Linked DNA regions of Homo sapiens: regions 1, 2, 3, 4 and 5 are each linked to region 6. The links are contacts of gene promoters, found by promoter capture Hi-C in blood cells and fetal thymus (Javierre and others, 2016). All regions are on one chromosome and are shown on one strand. The core of a region is centred on a gene start or on the middle of the fragment in contact, and the rest is flanking DNA. Distances in the headings are between cores, read along the strand shown. Region 1 overlaps TESK2 (testis associated actin remodelling kinase 2). Region 2 holds the start of HPDL (4-hydroxyphenylpyruvate dioxygenase like). Region 3 overlaps NASP (nuclear autoantigenic sperm protein). Region 4 overlaps TESK2 (testis associated actin remodelling kinase 2). Region 5 holds the start of PRDX1 (peroxiredoxin 1). Region 6 holds the start of PLK3 (polo like kinase 3).

Region 1 (2,700 bases), core at 160-2,659, 560 kb after region 6:
GACTAAGACAACTGCCTAGGCTAAAGAGTATAGGTTCTTCCCACATATCCCTATAGGGTCTGGTAGGTACCAATTCAGGCACAGACAAGCACATAAACATATCCATACAGAGAATATTCTGGACTGGCTCTAGGGAATATGTACCTCTCTCTGAGGTAAATGCACCCAGGACTCCAGTTCCCAATTCTTGCTGATTCTAGTCAGCTACAGTAGTTTCAACCAATTATAACTATTCAGAACAATAAGACAAAATGGTAGTTTTAAAAAAATTTGAATTACCAGTGTACTGATACCTGCAACCAAATAAGCTTATCTCTGAACAGTGGTTCAAAGGCATTCAGAGAAGGTCTGGAGAAAATATCAACTCTAAGAATTATTATTCCTTTTTGAAAAATCTACCCAACTGGCCAGGAGTTAGGGCATTTACCCAAAGAAGATAACTGTGCTGTCATCTAACTAGCAGAGATAATTTGCTACCATCTAATTAGCAACATGGTACTGAGAAAGATTCATCCATCCTTCTGTTCACCTACCCAAACACTGAAAACCTACAATGTGAAACACAAAGATAAATGGGGCCAGTCTCTGCCCACAGAGACTAGTCTAGCCTAGATGGTCTAGTAGGGATGCCATACAATCAACTAACACTTTTTTTTTTTCACACAGGAGAATAACATGATCAGATATGCTACATAGAAATATTCTAACAGTAGTATAAAAATTGTATGAAAAGGTCAGGAACTGAGGCTGGGAGAAGAGTTAGGATAACCAAGGCCTGAATAAGACAATGGCAGCAAGAATGGAAAGGAGGTTATTATCTCAGAGACATTAGAGGTAGAATCAGCAAGATTTGGTGTTTGTTCAAAGGCAAGGAGTAATTAAAGAGATAAGGTCTAAATACAAAGTCAGTCCAGTTTGGTGTTTAGCTCATAGTACACAACTCATTCTCCCATTTAACAGTATCTTTTTAAAATTTATTTTCATTTTTTACAACAGGTAGAACCCACTATCAATAACTTATCATTCTCACGCCTCCCTTAGGTTATTCCATTAGCTTTCTAACCTGTTTTCTTGCCCCCTTTTGCATCTTGAAAAGATTTAGCCCTCATTCCAATCCATTTTCCACAATATAGCCAAGACAATCTTTCTGAAATGCCAACCTGAAGCCACTCTCCTGTTAAAATTATTCAGTGATGTGCTATTACTTGTAGGATAAAACCCACAATCCTTAGAAAGGCACACAAAGCCTTTCACTCCTGCTTATAAAAGTCTGACTCCTGCTCACCTGCACATTTGTACACATTGCTGGTCCCTTTACCTCTAATATCCTTCCCCTTTCCCCACCTAGGCCTGGCTAATATTCACTCATTGTTGAGGATTTAATTCCATTTCATGGTAACCCATAGGCAGGGTTGGGGATAAGAAAGACAGTCTATGCAAAAGGAACACAAAGATAACAAAGCACAGAGATTAGTAATTATTCTTTTTTTTTTTTCTGTATAAGTAGGGGAGAAAGTATGAAGCTAAAAAGTTAAGATGGGCAGTATAATATAGTGGTGACTGCAGTTAGGCTGGCTAGGATTGAATCTCATCTCAGACTATAATAGTTGTAGAGCCCTGAGTTGGTTACTCAGTTTGTTTAATACACATCTATAAAATGGGAATAATAATAGTGCCTAACCCACAGAGTTGTTGTGAAGATTCAGTAAGTTGATACATGTAAAATGCTAAGAATAATGTCAAGGAAAGTGCTCAATATGTCAGTTATGACTATTTCTATTATTATTATTATATTTGTTATTAGTGCAGAAGTTCTGGAATACCAAGATGAAGCATCTACAGTTAATTCAGCAGACCACAGGGGCCACTGAAGGTTTATAGGTAAAGGTATAATATGATCTAATGGGGGTTGAATTACATCCCCCCAAAAGATGCATGCAAGTCCTAAACCCTGGTAAGGTAACTATAAATGTGACCTTATTTGGAAATAGGGTCTTTGCCAATGTAATCAAGTTAAGATGAGGTCACATTGGAGTAGGGCAGGCCCTTAATCCAATACGACTGGAATCCTTATAAAAAGAGTGGCAAGAGATATAGGCACACAGGGAAAATGTCATGTTAAGATAGAGGCAGAAATTGGACTGAGACATCTACAAGCCAAAGAACACCAAAAACCTACCAGAAGCTAGGAAAAGGCAAGAAGGATCTTCCCGTAGAGCCTTCAGAGAGAACAAGGCCCTACCAACACTTTGATTTTGGACTTCCAGCCTTCAGAACTCTGAGATAATAAGTTTCTGCTATGTCACCCACATTGTAGTGCTTTGCTATGGCAGCTCTAAGAAACTAATACATGACCCAAACTGCATTTTAGAAAGATCATTCTGGTAGCAGGATAGAGAAGGAATTAGAGGCAGTTTTGGAGGGTACTGCAACAGCCAGATGAGAGGTGACCAAACATCTAACTAACAGTGCTATTTATGGGCAAGAAAAAGTTGGCTATAGTCAGAATATAAAGCTTTTTAGCAACTGAGTGATAGATATGAGAAATAAGGAAAAAGAGTCAAAGACATCTCAGAGATTCCAAATTGAAAGGTTCAGACAGCAATGGAAAAAGATTTCAGAATCTTAAATGACTCAATGTGCCATCAGTAAGTCAGAAACCTGTCAGAAACCAGTATCAATGTCAAACAGCCAAATTAG
Region 2 (2,700 bases), core at 111-2,610, 530 kb after region 6:
AGGTCCGTCTGGCTTTTGGAACTCATGTCCTCACATTCACTGGTCTGCAGAGTAGCACCAAGTACCTTTTACCACCCTGACCAGCTCCTGGGTACTGCCCTCCTGCCTGCAGGCCTGAACACCATGACATCCAGCTAGCCCCTGTCCCCTATGACATCCTTCTCCCTCTTGCCAATGAAACCCAGTAGATCAGGCTGCCTGACAAAAAAATTTCTTGTGATGCCTTGGACTGTGGCATTCATCCTAAATGCCTCCCTAACAGCATGGCCCATTGCTCCTCTAAGAGTCTGGCTCACACTCTTACTGAGTTTTTGCTTATGCCCTTTGCCCTTCTTGGATGCCCTTCCCTAACCCTTCAAGGGCCACTCAGTTGAAGTTCCAGAAGACTACAAATTCCTCAATCCAGTCATCTCACACAATTCTGGGTTTCAGAGCCAGAAGTGCCCCCACCACAGAAATCTCTGGCTCAATGCCAAGTCAGGAAGCTGCAAAGAGCAAGGAGGGCCTGTGTTCCAGTCCTCAAAGGATGGGGAAGGGGAATGACAGCCAGGCAGCTGTTCCTTTCAGATCCCGAACCGTCAGATTTTTCCTCCAAATCTTGCTTGGGACAAGGGGTTAAATGATGTTGACAGAAGGGTGATTGAAGAAAGAGACAGGACTGGTTGAGAGATTGCCCAACACTTTGGGAGGCTGAGGTGGAAAGATGGCTTGAGCCCAGGGGTTTAAAACCAGCTTGGGCAATATAGCAAGACCCCATTTCTAAAAAAAAAAATTATTTTTAATTAGCTGGGTGTGGTGGCGTCCGCCTGTGGTCCCAGCTATTTGTGCACTGAGGCAAGGAAAATCGCCTGAACCCAGGAGGTGGAGGCTGCAGTGAGCTGTGATTGTGCCACTCCAGCCTGGGTGACAGAGTGAGACCCTGTCTCAAAACATATAAACGTGTGTGTGTGTGTGTGTGTGTGTGTGTGTGTATTCCAGGGAACATTAAGACTTAGAGGCAAACTCCAGAACTTAAAGAAAAAACATGAAAGTGCTAAAAAATTCCGTGCTTGTGGAGAGAGAATTCCAACTCTTTCCCTGAACCCGGGCTGAGTCCCTTCGCTGTGAGGTTGGGGGGATGAGTGGGAGCCCAGTGCCTGGCGCCGAGTGAAGGCAGCCATTGTGAGTTCCTGGGCTGGGGAAGGGAGGCTCAGTGCCCAAGGATGTGACCAGGCGTGAGGCCCGGGGAAAGAGCAGCGCGGCGACCCCGCAGTATCCGAGGCGACAGGGTGTGGGGGAGGGGGTGGGGAGTCAAAGGCGGAGTCACGGGCTCCGCCCTCTTTCTCCTGCTTGGCGCGAGCACAGGCACCGCGTGGTTCTCACAACCAGCAGCTCGGCTCACTGAGACCCGGTGGTCCAGACGCTGCTCCTGGCTGGGGTGGCGCTGCAGGGAGAACCGCGAGCTCTCAGGGGTCGGCGGGTGACTTCTTTCCGGAAGAAAGCGAGGAACGCGCTCTGCGGGGTGAGCCGGACTCCCCAACTCCGGACGATCAGCCCAGGACTGAGAGCCCCGAAGTCCCCAACCACAAGTAAGCGGCCCCAGAAGGACAAGTCTAGGTCGCCGTCCAGAGCGCCATGGCCGCGCCCGCCCTTCGTTTGTGCCACATCGCCTTCCACGTGCCCGCCGGGCAGCCCCTAGCCCGGAACCTGCAGCGCCTCTTCGGCTTCCAGCCCCTGGCTTCGCGGGAGGTGGACGGCTGGCGGCAGCTAGCCCTGCGCAGCGGCGACGCGGTCTTTTTGGTGAACGAGGGCGCAGGGTCTGGAGAGCCGCTGTACGGCCTGGATCCGCGTCACGCCGTGCCCAGCGCCACAAACCTGTGCTTCGACGTGGCGGACGCCGGCGCTGCAACCCGGGAGCTGGCAGCGCTGGGCTGCAGCGTGCCTGTCCCTCCCGTTCGCGTGCGGGACGCGCAGGGTGCCGCCACTTACGCCGTGGTCAGCTCGCCTGCCGGCATCCTCAGCCTGACCTTGCTGGAGCGCGCTGGCTACCGCGGACCCTTCCTACCCGGCTTCAGGCCCGTGTCCTCTGCGCCTGGCCCCGGGTGGGTCAGCCGCGTGGACCACCTGACCTTGGCCTGCACCCCCGGCAGCTCCCCCACACTTTTGCGCTGGTTCCACGACTGCCTGGGCTTTTGCCACTTGCCGCTGAGCCCAGGTGAGGATCCCGAGCTGGGCCTCGAAATGACAGCAGGGTTTGGGCTTGGGGGACTGAGGCTTACAGCCCTGCAGGCCCAGCCGGGCAGCATTGTCCCCACTCTTGTTCTGGCTGAGTCCCTTCCGGGGGCGACGACACGACAGGACCAGGTGGAGCAGTTCCTGGCCCGGCACAAGGGGCCAGGCCTGCAGCACGTGGGGCTGTATACGCCTAACATTGTGGAGGCCACTGAGGGGGTGGCAACTGCTGGAGGCCAGTTCCTGGCTCCCCCTGGGGCATACTACCAGCAGCCAGGAAAGGAGAGGCAGATCCGAGCTGCAGGGCACGAGCCTCATCTGCTTGCTCGACAGGGGATCCTGCTAGATGGTGATAAAGGCAAGTTTCTGCTTCAGGTCTTCACCAAGTCCCTTTTTACTGAGGACACTTTCTTCCTGGAGCTGATTCAGAGGCAGGGGGCCACTGGCTTTGGTCAGGGCAACATCAGAGCTCTGTGGCAGTCCGTACAG
Region 3 (2,700 bases), core at 77-2,576, 790 kb after region 6:
TTAGTGGGGACACTTAGAGGTAAAGTTTATAAGGTCCTCATGTTTAAGGGTAGGATAAAGAAAATGACTTGAATTTAGACTTTAGGTAAGAATGTACATTATAATTCGAGGATGACCATTGAAAGAATAAATATAACTTCCAAACCAGTAGAAAGAAAAAAAATGGAATGAGAAATAAACCTCAGTTCAGGTTTTTTAAATTTAGGAGATGAGGATCTTACTATGTTGCCCAGGCTGGATTCCCAACTCCTAGTCTCAAGCAATCCTTCCATCTCAGCCTTCTGGGTAGCTGGGACTACAGGCATGCATCACCTCGCCTGGCTTAGAATTGGCTTTGATAGCAGCTTCATTGCTTCAGTAGTGATATTGGACCACAGTTTTGTCGTCTGCAAAAAGTCTTAGGTTGGCTTTTGTCCCCTCGTGCCATTAAAGCAGTATTGTTTAAGGTGATGTATATCTACATGCTAAATTAATCCTGTCATTCTTAGCTTTCTAACTAGTTCTTAGTTGGTTTTTTTTTGTTGTTTTTTTTTTGAGAGGGAGTTTTGTCACCCAGGCTGGAGTGCAGTGGCACAATCTCTGCTCACTGCAACCTCCGCCCTCCCGGATTCAAGCAAGTCTCTTGCCTCAGCCTCCCAAGTAGCTGGGACTGCAGGTGTGTACCACCACACCTGGCTAATTTTTTGGGGTTTTGCCATGTTGGCCAGGGTGATCTCGAACTCCTGACCTCAGGTGATCAGCCGGTCTCGGCGTGAGCCACCGTGCCCGGCTGCAGTTATGATTTAATACTGCATCTTTGTTCATTTACATATCTCAACTGTGGATGGTGCCGTGTATGGTCTGTGTGTTTTGATGAATTTTAACTTTTTATAATTTGTATTTTATGGTAGTGAAGAAGACTAGTACCTACATATCTTTTATGCATTGATTACATACATTTTGTTAATTCAACATTTCTAGGCTATGAGGTTTGTCTTGAGTTTTTTCATATATATATATATATATATATATATAATTAATTTTTTGGAGAGAGAGTCTTGTTGTCTTGCCCAAGCTGGAGTGTAGTGGCCAGATCTTGGCTTACTGCAACTTCTGCCTCCCCTGTGCAAGCGATTCTTGTGCATCAGCCTCCCAAGTAGCTGAGACTACAGTTTACAAAAATTAGCCGAGCATGGGTAGCAGGGTCCTGTAATCGCTTGAAACCGGGAGGCAGAGGTTGCAGTGAGTCGAGATTGTGCCACTGCACTCTAGCCTCAGAGCAAGACTCCATCTCAAAAAAAAAAGGGCCAGGTGGTGTGGCTCACGTGGTAATCCCAACACTGTGGGAAGCCAACACGGGCATATCACTTGAAGCCAGGAGTTCGAGACCAGCCTGGCTGACATGGCAAAACCCCGTCTCTACTAAAAATACAAAAATCAGCCAGGCGTGGTTGCGCATGACTGTAGTCATTCAGAGTCTAACTCCGTTGCTCAGGCTGGAGTGCACTGGTGCGATCTAGGCTCACCGCAGTCTCCACCTCCAGGGTTCAAGCAATTCTCCTGCCTCAGCCTCCCAAGTAGTTGGGATTACAGGCGCCCGCCACCACACCTGGCTAATTTTTGTATTTTTAGTAGAAATGAGGTTTTACCATGTTGGCCAGGCTGGTCTCGAACTCCTGACCTCAGGTGATCCACTCACCTTGCCTTTCCAAAGTTCTGGGATTATAGGCGTTAGCCACCGTGCCCAGGCTACACTTCTTTTTTTAAAATTAATTTTTTGAACTAGAGAAGGGGTCTCATTTTGCTGCTTAGCCTGGTCTCAAACTCCTAGCCTCAAACAGTCCTTCTGCCTTCCAAAGTGCAGGGATTATAGCTGTGAGCCTAGCCTTGAATTTCTGTTAGCAATGTATGGGAGTACAATTTCTCCTTAACCCTATCTTTGACTATTCGATGGGTAAAACATACTTTCTAAGTATAGTTTTTTTGTTTCTCTTAAGAATGAGCGGCCGGGCGCGGTGGCTCACACCTGTAATCCAGCACTTTGGGAGGCCGAGGTGGGCAGATCACGAGGTCAGGAGATCGAGACCATCCTGGCTAACACGGTGAAACCCCATCTCTACTAAAAATACAAAAAAAAAATGTAGTCCCAGCTACTTGAGAAGCTGACGCAGGAGAATGGCGTGAACCCGGGAGGCGGAGCTTGCAGTGAGCCGAGATCGAGATCGCGCCACTGCACTCCAGCCTGGGCAACAGTGCGAGACTCCGTCTCAAAAACAAAAGAATGAGCAGTAGCAGGTGGTCAAGTGTTTGTTTGTTTGTTTGTTTGTTTGTGAGTGTTTATATTAAATCCATTAATCTATTCCCATTGGGCTTTTTTATCCTGTTGACTAAGATTCTATGTATATTTGCTAAGTTAACCTTTTGTGAAATGAATTAGATGGAGTAGAATCTGTCAATATCCTATGGTTTCTGGTTTGTTTGTTTATTTATTTGAAACAAGGTCTTACTCTCTCACCCAGGCTAGAGTATAGTGGTATGATCATAGCTCACTGCAGCCTCTATCTCCTGGGCTCAAGCAATCTTCCCATATCAGTCTCTGGAGTAGCTGGGACTACAGGCATGTACCACCATGCCCATCTCATTTTATTTTTGGTAGAGATAGGTCTCGCTGTGTTGCCCAGGTTGGTTTTTGAACCCCTGAGCTCAAGCAGTCCACCTACC
Region 4 (2,700 bases), core at 137-2,636, 540 kb after region 6:
GGTACAAGTAAGAAGGCTGACCAGCACCTGTAACACTGACTTTATTTTTAAGTCTGAAAATGTCTTGGGAAAGTTTTACAAAAAAAAAAATCAACAGAAGCAAGTTATGAAAATATTTGACCAGCTTCATCTTTGGTTATTTCTTATTGCAGCTCTGTAAGGACAGACTGTTCCCAAAGCTCCAGCCATGGCAGGAAGGGAAGCAAATCAGTCCCTGTATAAACCATTTAACCAATTGAATGTATCACATGTTGATAAATACATAGAAGCAGGCCCTAGGGCCTACAAAACCAGCCCCACTCCCAACCACAAGGTTGAAAGTCTTATGGGGCAGAACATTAAGACTCCTTTATAAATATGAAAATAGATTAATCAACAGGAAAAGGTCTTTGAATAGGTTAGCTAAGAGCCATGACCACCACGCTGCCTTGCTGTCCCCTTGCATAGAAATGTAGTGACGTGGTCTGACCATGCAGTAAGTGCAAACAGCAATTACTCAAATGTCTTAGAATACTGGCAAGAAGCACCCCAATATTCAGGTCTGGGAAACAGCCATGACCATTACGGCCTCTTGATCAGCTCCATGTTCCACTCAGTAGCTTATATGCCCCAAGAAAAGGCAAGAGACAGACCTGGGGTGGGGAAAGAACCGGGGTAATAGCTGCCTGCCAGCTCAGCCTAGAACTAGACATCCTCTGGTCCTATCTGGGGAAGTACACTGGAGAGGGTCTGGTGGGAGGCAGACCTCCTTGCTGGATTTCAGAGGCTTGGTATCAGCTGTTGGCCCTAACTAGGAAGGCCTCTCACTGCTGCCTCCCGTCATACACAGCCAATGGGCACTGGGAGCCCAGAAGTTGAGCCTGGCTTGGCCTAGCCTGCCTGCTCTGTAGGCTCCAGGGAAGAATCAAGGCTGTGCACCTAGGGGGCCATATGGTTTCAGCTGAAGGTCCATCCCCAAGGTGAGGCAGGGACTAAACCCCCTCACCCATCCTGCTTTCCCTGGGTTTGCAGGCCTATGCCTGAGGTGGAGAAGGTGGCTGGAGTTGAGCCTGCTGGCCTTTCTTCTACCTCCATCTCCTCAGAAGCACCCGCAGGGCATGGACTGGTCCCCTGGGGCCTGGACCCAAAACCATTTTCTTCCTGGAGAATGGAGCAGTCCATAGCCTCATGGGCTTGAGCAGCTGGTAGGGCAGATGCCCGGAATGGTGGGATCTCTTTAACTCTGTACTTGAGACTACTTAGGCGTGGTGGGGGCCCATCAGATAGCGATTCTTCCCGGCCCACAAATGGACAAGCCTCTTGATGCAAGAACTCAGGCGAACCAGGCAAGGAACGCCACCGGCGAATAGGTGGGGCCAGGGGCTCCTGCCAGTCAGCCAGGGGCATAGTTCCGGGCCCTGGTGCATCCAGGTCAAATACCAGAGAGATGACAGACTTGCTGGGCAGGTCAAAAAACTTGATCTTGCCCCCCATGAGGTCCTGGCGAGCACTAAAAGGGTTGACTTTGGGGGTGCGGGCAGCACCATCTCGTGGCCGGTAGTATGGGTCCAAGACACTCACTGTACGTGGGGGCTTACGGGAAAAGATATCTGACTGGCTTCGAGACAGCCAGATGGTACGTCTTGGGCATGGTGACTTGTGGGGGATCTTGTCATCCAGTGAGCTTAGTCGCTTCACCCCAGGTGCTTTCTCCAAGAGTCCTGAAGAATAATCAAGTCTGGGTTACTCTCACTAGTCATAACAAATACAAGCAGCATTTTACCACAGAATGTTTTCACTCATGAAAGCAAAGCTGATACCATGGCCCTGTTTTACCAATGAAGAAACAGACTCAGAGAGGGGAAGCAGTATGCCAAGCCACAGCTCTTAAAAAGGCCAGTACTTTCTGCATCATCTCCTTCCCCTCCCATTTGTTTCTGGACCTGGGATCCTGGCAATCACAACCCTAAGAGGAGAAGGCCCCACATCCGAATTTCCTCCCTTAGGGTTAGGTTGGGCTCCCTGGTCTAATCTCTTACCCCTGGCTGTGGGCTGCAGCTTCCTATCCCTCTCCTGCTCTTCTTCCTGTAGGCGGCTCAGAATTTCCTCCAGGGTCTTCCCAATCTCCACAAAAGATGGGCGCAGTTTGGGATCCATCTGTAGGTATCCACAACAGCCATGAGCTCTGCCCTCCATCTCCCACCCCAAAGATGGCATTTGAGTCTATTTCTGGCATCTTTGAAGATTCAGATGTGCAGCTGAGAGACCTTTTCTAAAGGCCCCAGACAATGAAGGTGATCCCTACAGTTCAGGTCAGGGAAAACACTACTGTCTACTACCCTCCCTGTCTTAGTGTTTGTCTTATCACCTTGTCACAGAACCTTCCAAAAGTATGCTCATATTAGTTTATTCTGTTCTTGAGTTCTGCTCCTAATGTGTTTCTGGGAGGTATCTGAACAAAGCCCACCTACCCCTTGATCCTAACAGGTAAGGTCCAGCCCCAGAGCTACATACATGAAGGCCAAGAAGAGCCTTTCTCATATGCCTCAGGACCAGTTGGATCCACAGTCCAACAATAAAACCGGACCAGAGTTCCATCAACACCTAACGCAAGGAGTGATGGGTCTACCCTACAGGTTGAGGACCAGATAATACAAAACAACTTCTTTCTTTCCTTTGTCCAGAGCTCTGAATAGGTTAGCTGCCAGAGGGAGGAGGAGG
Region 5 (2,700 bases), core at 183-2,682, 720 kb after region 6:
AGAGACGGGATTTCTCCATGTTGGTCAGGCTAGTCTCAAACTCCTCACCTCAGATGATTGCCCAACTCAGTCTCCCAAAATGCTGGGATTACAGGCGTGAGCCACCGCGCCCTTCCAGTCAGTCCAACTTTTAAGAGGCAAGACCACTGGGCGCAGTGTCTCACACCTGTAATCCCAGCACTTTGAGAGGCTCAGGCGGGCGGATCACCGGGTCAGGAGTTCGAGACCAGTCTGGCCAACATGGTGAAACCCCGTCTCTACTAGAAACACAAAAATTAGTCGGGCGTGGTGGTGCATGCCTGTAATCGCAACTACTCAGGAGGCTGAAGCAGGAGAATCACTTGAACCCGGGAGGCAGAGGTTGCAGTAAGCTGAGATCGCGCCACTGCACTCCAGCCTGGGCAACAGAGTGAGACTCTGTCTCCAAAAAAAAAAAAAAAAAAAAGAGGCAAGACCAAGATATTGATTGGCATCTGCTTAATTTCAAATCTTTAGGTATTGTGTAAGCCCTAGAATTCCCTTCACCATTTGTGAAGGTGGGTTCCTGACTTTGGGGCTAATATCCCAGGGCGAAAACAAGTATAAGAATCAATTTACTGCTGAAAAGGAAGGTTGCACTGGATTCACCCAGATCAACACCAAGATTAGTATTGAGATCTTGGCCAAGCGCTGTGGCTCAAGCCTGTAATCCCAGCACTTTGGGAGGCCGAGGCAGGCAGATCACCTGAGGTCAGAAGTTCGAGACCAGCCTGGCCATCATAGTGAAACCCCGTCTCTAACAAAAATACAAAAAATTAGCCGGGGGTGGTGGCACGCGCCTGCAGTCCCAGCTACTCGGGAGGCTGAGGCAGGAGAATGGCGTGAACCCGGGAGGCGGAGGCTGCAGTGAGCCGAGATCCAGCCACTGCACTCCAGCCTGGGCGACAGAGCGAGACTCCGTCTCAAAAAAAAAAAAAAAAAAAAAATACAAAAATTAGCCGGGGCTTGGTGGCACAAGCCTGTAATCCCAGCTACTCCTAAGGCTGAGGCAGAAGAATTGCTTGAATTCGGGAGACAGGGGTTGCAGTAAGCCGAGACCGCGCCACTGCACTCCAGCCTGGCCGACAGAGCGAGACTCTAGCTCAAAAAACAGAGATTTAACCCACTAAGCCGCGGTCTGAAAGCTTTTCCAAGTCCCAAAGTTCTTAGTTCACAATACCACAAGCAAAAGAAATTTTGTAAGCATGGATCTTAGCAAACTTTTAACTGTTTTTTAAAAAGTCCTTAACACCTTTAACGACAAAAAACAAAAACCAAAAACTAAGGCATGCTGCAACTTGGTGCCCCCAAATGGCCTTCTCGTCCAATCCTTCTTTCCCAAGTGGCCCCCAAGTACAAAACCCAACCAATTCGGGGTAAAGGCTGCTGGGATTCAGGCCGCCACCGGGCCCCTTCAGGGGATCTGCCCAGCGTAGAGGGCCACATCCCTAAACCCCACTTCAGGTGCCCCCTGTCCCTCCCCAGCACTGGAGAAAGCACCAGCAGAGAGAGTGCTTCAGCGGGGACATTTGGGCTCATCGCTAACTCCATTCCACGTACAGGAAAATAAAGACGGGGAAAGGGTACCCGAAGCTCCGCAGCTAGTCAAGGCTCAGGACCCGGAACAGCCAAATACATAGAGGCTGTCTTCTACAGCCACGAGTCTGGATACAGGTCCATTCCAGAAGCTTCCCGAACCCACCCCGTCCGGCAGGAGGCTAGTCTCGGAGACCCCCACCACCAGCCCGCCCAGACGCCGCGCCACGTGCTCGAGTTGCCGGGGGAAGACTCGACTCGAGTCCACGCTTGCCTTGGGGTTCAACCAGGTTCCCGCACCTACGTGGGGGGCCCACGAGAGGGGTGTGCGCAGCGCTCAAGCAGTCTCGGACTCCGGGCCTCCCCCGGCTGCCTCACGCATCACAGCACCCCCACCCGAGCGCGGGCGGGCCCCGGACAGGAGGAGGAAGAGGCAACAGGCAAGAAGGGCGCGCCGCGCCTCACTCCGCAGGGGCCGCACTGCCCACACTCACCAGTCCCAACACAAGTCGCAGAAACTAACCACCGACACCAGGCAAGAACAAGACGCGCAAGAGCTCTCCGGGGCGCTGCCTTTATAGCCAGTAGGGATCTCGCGAGAGTCGGAACGGACGGGGGTGCCGGAGGAGGAGAGAGAGGAGGGGGATGTGGCCCGAGCCCCGCCCGGCGCGCCCCGCCGGAATGACTCGGCGCTTTCCCTCGTTGGGGCGGGTGCGGAAAAATACTAATACCCCACCCTGTTGCGGATGGCTGAGGTTGGAGTGAGGCGCCCTTGTGGCCGCTCCCGAACCCGAACGCTTAGGTTAATCCTAGATCTCTGCGGAAAACCAGGATTCTCTTTACTTCCAGGACCACTACGCACTGTGCCCTCAATGCCCAAACTGGAGTAAGCGTCTTAGCTGCTGCCCACGGAGGACCACGTCTAACCACACCAAGCCATGAGAACTGTCTATCCAAATATTTCTTAAGTTCGCAGCCTTAACCCCAGCGCAGATCCTCAGTAACCCTCATGGCTTAGATAGCTTCCTTCATTGTTCTCTTTAATTACAGGGTTGCTGCTTTCTGTTGTAAAGGAAAATAAAATATCAGGACTCCTAAACTTACGCCAGAGGGAAAGTTCATCTTGGGAGGCTGATTCAGTTACAC
Region 6 (2,700 bases), core at 190-2,689:
TTGTTTATCTGCTTGCCTATTGTCTGTTTCCATCAAGCAGAATGTAAACTAAATGAGGGCTGCAAGCTTGATTAGTTTTATTCGAGATAGTGTCCAGCACTTAGCAGATGCTCTCAATAAATCTTTGAGGAATGGCATGGTAATTGATTGGCTGGCACAGAGGGAGGGCAGAGAGGTGAGAGACAAGGCCAGGAGGCCTGTGGTCCTGGGCCTCTGTCTCTGGCCCTGGGAAGGGTGGGCATTGCGCAGGGGTCTAGGGGTCCACGTGGTCCAGAGACTAGCTGCCCAAGTGCCCGTGTCTAGCATTTGAGAAAATGCAATTCCCAGCCAGGCAAGGTGGCTCACGCCTGTAATCCCAGCACTTTGGGACGCCGAAGCGGGTAGATCACCTGAGGTTGGGAGTTCCAGACCAGTCTGACCAACATGGAGAAACCCCGTCTCTACTTAAAAAAAAAAAAATACAAAATTAGCCGGGTGTGATGGCGCATGCCTGTAATCCCAGCTGCTCGGGAGGCTGAGGCAGGAGAATCGCTTGAACCTGGGAGGCAGAGTTTGCGATGAGCCAAGATCGCGCCATTGCACTCCAGCCTAGGCAACAAGAGCGAAACTCTGTCTCAAAAAAAAAAAAAAGAAAGAAAGAAAGAAAAAAGAAAATCCAATTCCCATTCACTTTCTGGCCTCTGGCTGCTGACCCAGGCCCGGGGGTATTTTCAGAGGAAGGGAATTGCGGACCCCGGAGGAACCCGAAATTTGCCCCTCAAGAGTGTAGAAGTGGGTAGCGGAAGATGTGGCCTGGAGCATGGTAAAAGCCTTGAAATTCCAGACTCTGCTTGACTCCTAAACCTGGCAAGGCAGCCCTCGGGCCAGGCAAGCCAGGCGCGAGACTGTGCCTTCCTTCCAGGCCCTAAAGAGGGCAGCACTGGGCCGGGCCCCGGGCGAGGGCGAGGGACACACGCGGTCCGGCACACTGAAAGGGGAGTGTCGGGTAACATGCCCGGGCAAAAGCGAGCGCCGCCCCTGCCTCTCCGCTGCTGGCTGGAACGCTGATCTATCTAGTTGCTGGGGAGACGCCCCCAGATGCCCGGGCCCCACTCGGACTTCAGCACACATCCCGAAGGATGGGGAAAGAAAGAGGCCCCCACGAGCGGGACTCGCAGTGGCCAAGGAGGGGTGAGAGGCGGACAGGGATCAGCTGGCCCCTGCGGCCTGGTTGCACCTGCATGGTGACTAGCTGCCGGGCTGCGCCCCGGGGCGCGGCGAGGAGGCGGGGTCTGGCAGTGCGTTGGGTGGGGGAGGAGCTTCTGGGTGATGTAAGGCCGGGAATGGGAGTGGCCTCTCCTCGACTCGCTGCTAGGAAGGGGGCGGGACTCTCGGTGACCAGACGCCGGGGAGGGGGCAGGCGTTCATTGATAAAACGCTGGGCTCCCCTGGGCGCCAGCGCAGCGTAGCAAATCCAGGCAGCGCCACGCGCGGCCGGGGCCGGGCGGAACCGAGAAGCCGGGACCGCGCTGCGACGCGCCGGCCGCATGGAGCCTGCCGCCGGTTTCCTGTCTCCGCGCCCCTTCCAGCGTGCGGCCGCCGCGCCCGCTCCCCCGGCCGGGCCCGGGCCGCCTCCGAGTGCCTTGCGCGGACCTGAGCTGGAGATGCTGGCCGGGCTACCGACGTCAGACCCCGGGCGCCTCATCACGGACCCGCGCAGCGGCCGCACCTACCTCAAAGGCCGCTTGTTGGGCAAGGTGGGCCGAGGGACGTCCGCGGGGTGGTGATGGTGGAGGTGGGGGTCCCGGCCGGCCTCTTTTCTGGCGCCGAGCAGGGCGTGGGCACTTGACCCCCAACGCGGGGACGCCCGCGGGCCAGACTCGGCCCCCCTGGAACAACCAGCCTGATGCCCCCTCTTCACAGGGGGGCTTCGCCCGCTGCTACGAGGCCACTGACACAGAGACTGGCAGCGCCTACGCTGTCAAAGTCATCCCGCAGAGCCGCGTCGCCAAGCCGCATCAGCGCGAGAAGGTGGGTCCAGGCTCAGCGGGCGAGGGGTGGGGTGGGGACGGTGGCATGGGAACCATGGAAGGATGACGACTCCGCGCCCTCATCGCAGATCCTAAATGAGATTGAGCTGCACCGAGACCTGCAGCACCGCCACATCGTGCGTTTTTCGCACCACTTTGAGGACGCTGACAACATCTACATTTTCTTGGAGCTCTGCAGCCGAAAGGTGAAAGATGGTGATTCCCGCAGGGATGAGAGTGAGGGAGAGAAGACAGTCTTTTTTTTTTTTTTTTTTTTTTTTGAGATGGAGTCTTGCTCTGTTGCCCAGGCTGGAGTGCAGTGGCGCGATCTCGGCTCACTGCAATCTCTGCCTCCCGGGTTCAAGCAATTCTCCTGCCTCAGCCTCCTGAGTAGCTGGGATTACAGGCATGCACCACCACGCCCGGCTAATTTTTGTATTTTTAGTAGAGACAGGGTTTCACCCTGTTGGTCAGGCTGGTCTCAAACTCCTGACCTTGTGATACACCTGCCTTGGCCTCCCAAAGTGCTGGGATTACAGGCGTGAGCCACTACACCCAGCCGAGAAGACAGTCTTAAGACCCAAAGCTGGGGCCCTGTTTCTTCCTCAGGGAGCACAGATGGAGGGGGAGGGGGAGGGAGGGCTCACCAGGGGCTGAGGCAGTGGCTCTCTGCAGTCCCTGGCCCACATCT

The links. Contacts are between HindIII fragments. The CHiCAGO score rates a contact against its expected background, and 5 or more counts as called.
Region 1: a contact is called between a fragment that was not itself captured here and the fragment with the promoter of PLK3 in region 6, in 1 of 17 cell types (total B cells). The highest score is 5.6, in total B cells.
Region 2: the fragment with the promoter of HPDL here is called in contact with the fragment with the promoter of PLK3 in region 6 in 1 of 17 cell types (erythroblasts); the score reaches 5.3 in erythroblasts.
Region 3: a contact is called between a fragment that was not itself captured here and the fragment with the promoter of PLK3 in region 6, in 3 of 17 cell types (fetal thymus, total CD4 T cells and naive CD4 T cells). The highest score is 7.4, in fetal thymus.
Region 4: a fragment that was not itself captured here is called in contact with the fragment with the promoter of PLK3 in region 6 in 9 of 17 cell types (megakaryocytes, naive CD4 T cells, total CD4 T cells and 6 more); the score reaches 9.0 in megakaryocytes.
Region 5: a contact is called between a fragment that was not itself captured here and the fragment with the promoter of PLK3 in region 6, in 10 of 17 cell types (fetal thymus, naive CD4 T cells, erythroblasts and 7 more). The highest score is 13.4, in fetal thymus.

Annotation. Positions count from the first base shown.
Region 1 is chr1:45,362,241-45,364,940 of GRCh38, forward strand. All of the region lies in intron 4 of TESK2 (testis associated actin remodelling kinase 2), which reads right to left. Among named protein-coding and RNA genes, the nearest start is that of TOE1, 23 kb to the left of the region's middle. The HindIII fragment of the contact is 2,207 bases long and covers 307-2,513 here.
Region 2 is chr1:45,325,535-45,328,234 of GRCh38, forward strand. It overlaps HPDL (4-hydroxyphenylpyruvate dioxygenase like), which reads left to right and starts at 1,361. Exons shown (of 1, transcript NM_032756.4): 1 at 1,361-2,700. The coding sequence starts at 1,615. RefSeq lists enhancers at 1,393-1,442, 1,453-1,702, 2,463-2,572. The HindIII fragment of the contact is 11,997 bases long and covers 1-2,700 here.
Region 3 is chr1:45,586,675-45,589,374 of GRCh38, forward strand. The region is part of intron 1 of NASP (nuclear autoantigenic sperm protein); the gene reads left to right. Among named protein-coding and RNA genes, the nearest start is that of NASP, 4.0 kb to the left of the region's middle. RefSeq lists enhancers at 1,654-2,154, 2,155-2,655. The HindIII fragment of the contact is 7,555 bases long and covers 1-2,700 here.
Region 4 is chr1:45,343,859-45,346,558 of GRCh38, forward strand. It overlaps TESK2 (testis associated actin remodelling kinase 2), which reads right to left. Exons shown (of 11, transcript NM_007170.3): 10 at 2,019-2,136; 11 at 25-1,700. The coding sequence ends at 982. TOE1 (target of EGR1, exonuclease) reads left to right here. Exons shown (of 8, transcript NM_025077.4): 8 at 1-115. Among named protein-coding and RNA genes, the nearest start is that of TOE1, 5.0 kb to the left of the region's middle. The HindIII fragment of the contact is 6,722 bases long and covers 1-2,700 here.
Region 5 is chr1:45,519,781-45,522,480 of GRCh38, forward strand. PRDX1 (peroxiredoxin 1) reads right to left here and starts at 2,104. Exons shown (of 6, transcript NM_181697.3): 1 at 2,049-2,104. RefSeq lists a silencer at 1,298-1,460 and an enhancer at 2,503-2,582. The HindIII fragment of the contact is 543 bases long and covers 1,162-1,704 here.
Region 6 is chr1:44,798,938-44,801,637 of GRCh38, forward strand. PLK3 (polo like kinase 3) reads left to right here and starts at 1,440. Exons shown (of 15, transcript NM_004073.4): 1 at 1,440-1,736; 2 at 1,903-2,010; 3 at 2,099-2,215; 4 at 2,685-2,700. The coding sequence starts at 1,527. RefSeq lists enhancers at 444-1,112, 797-856, 907-1,296, 2,067-2,116 and a silencer at 1,397-1,676. The HindIII fragment of the contact is 10,835 bases long and covers 65-2,700 here.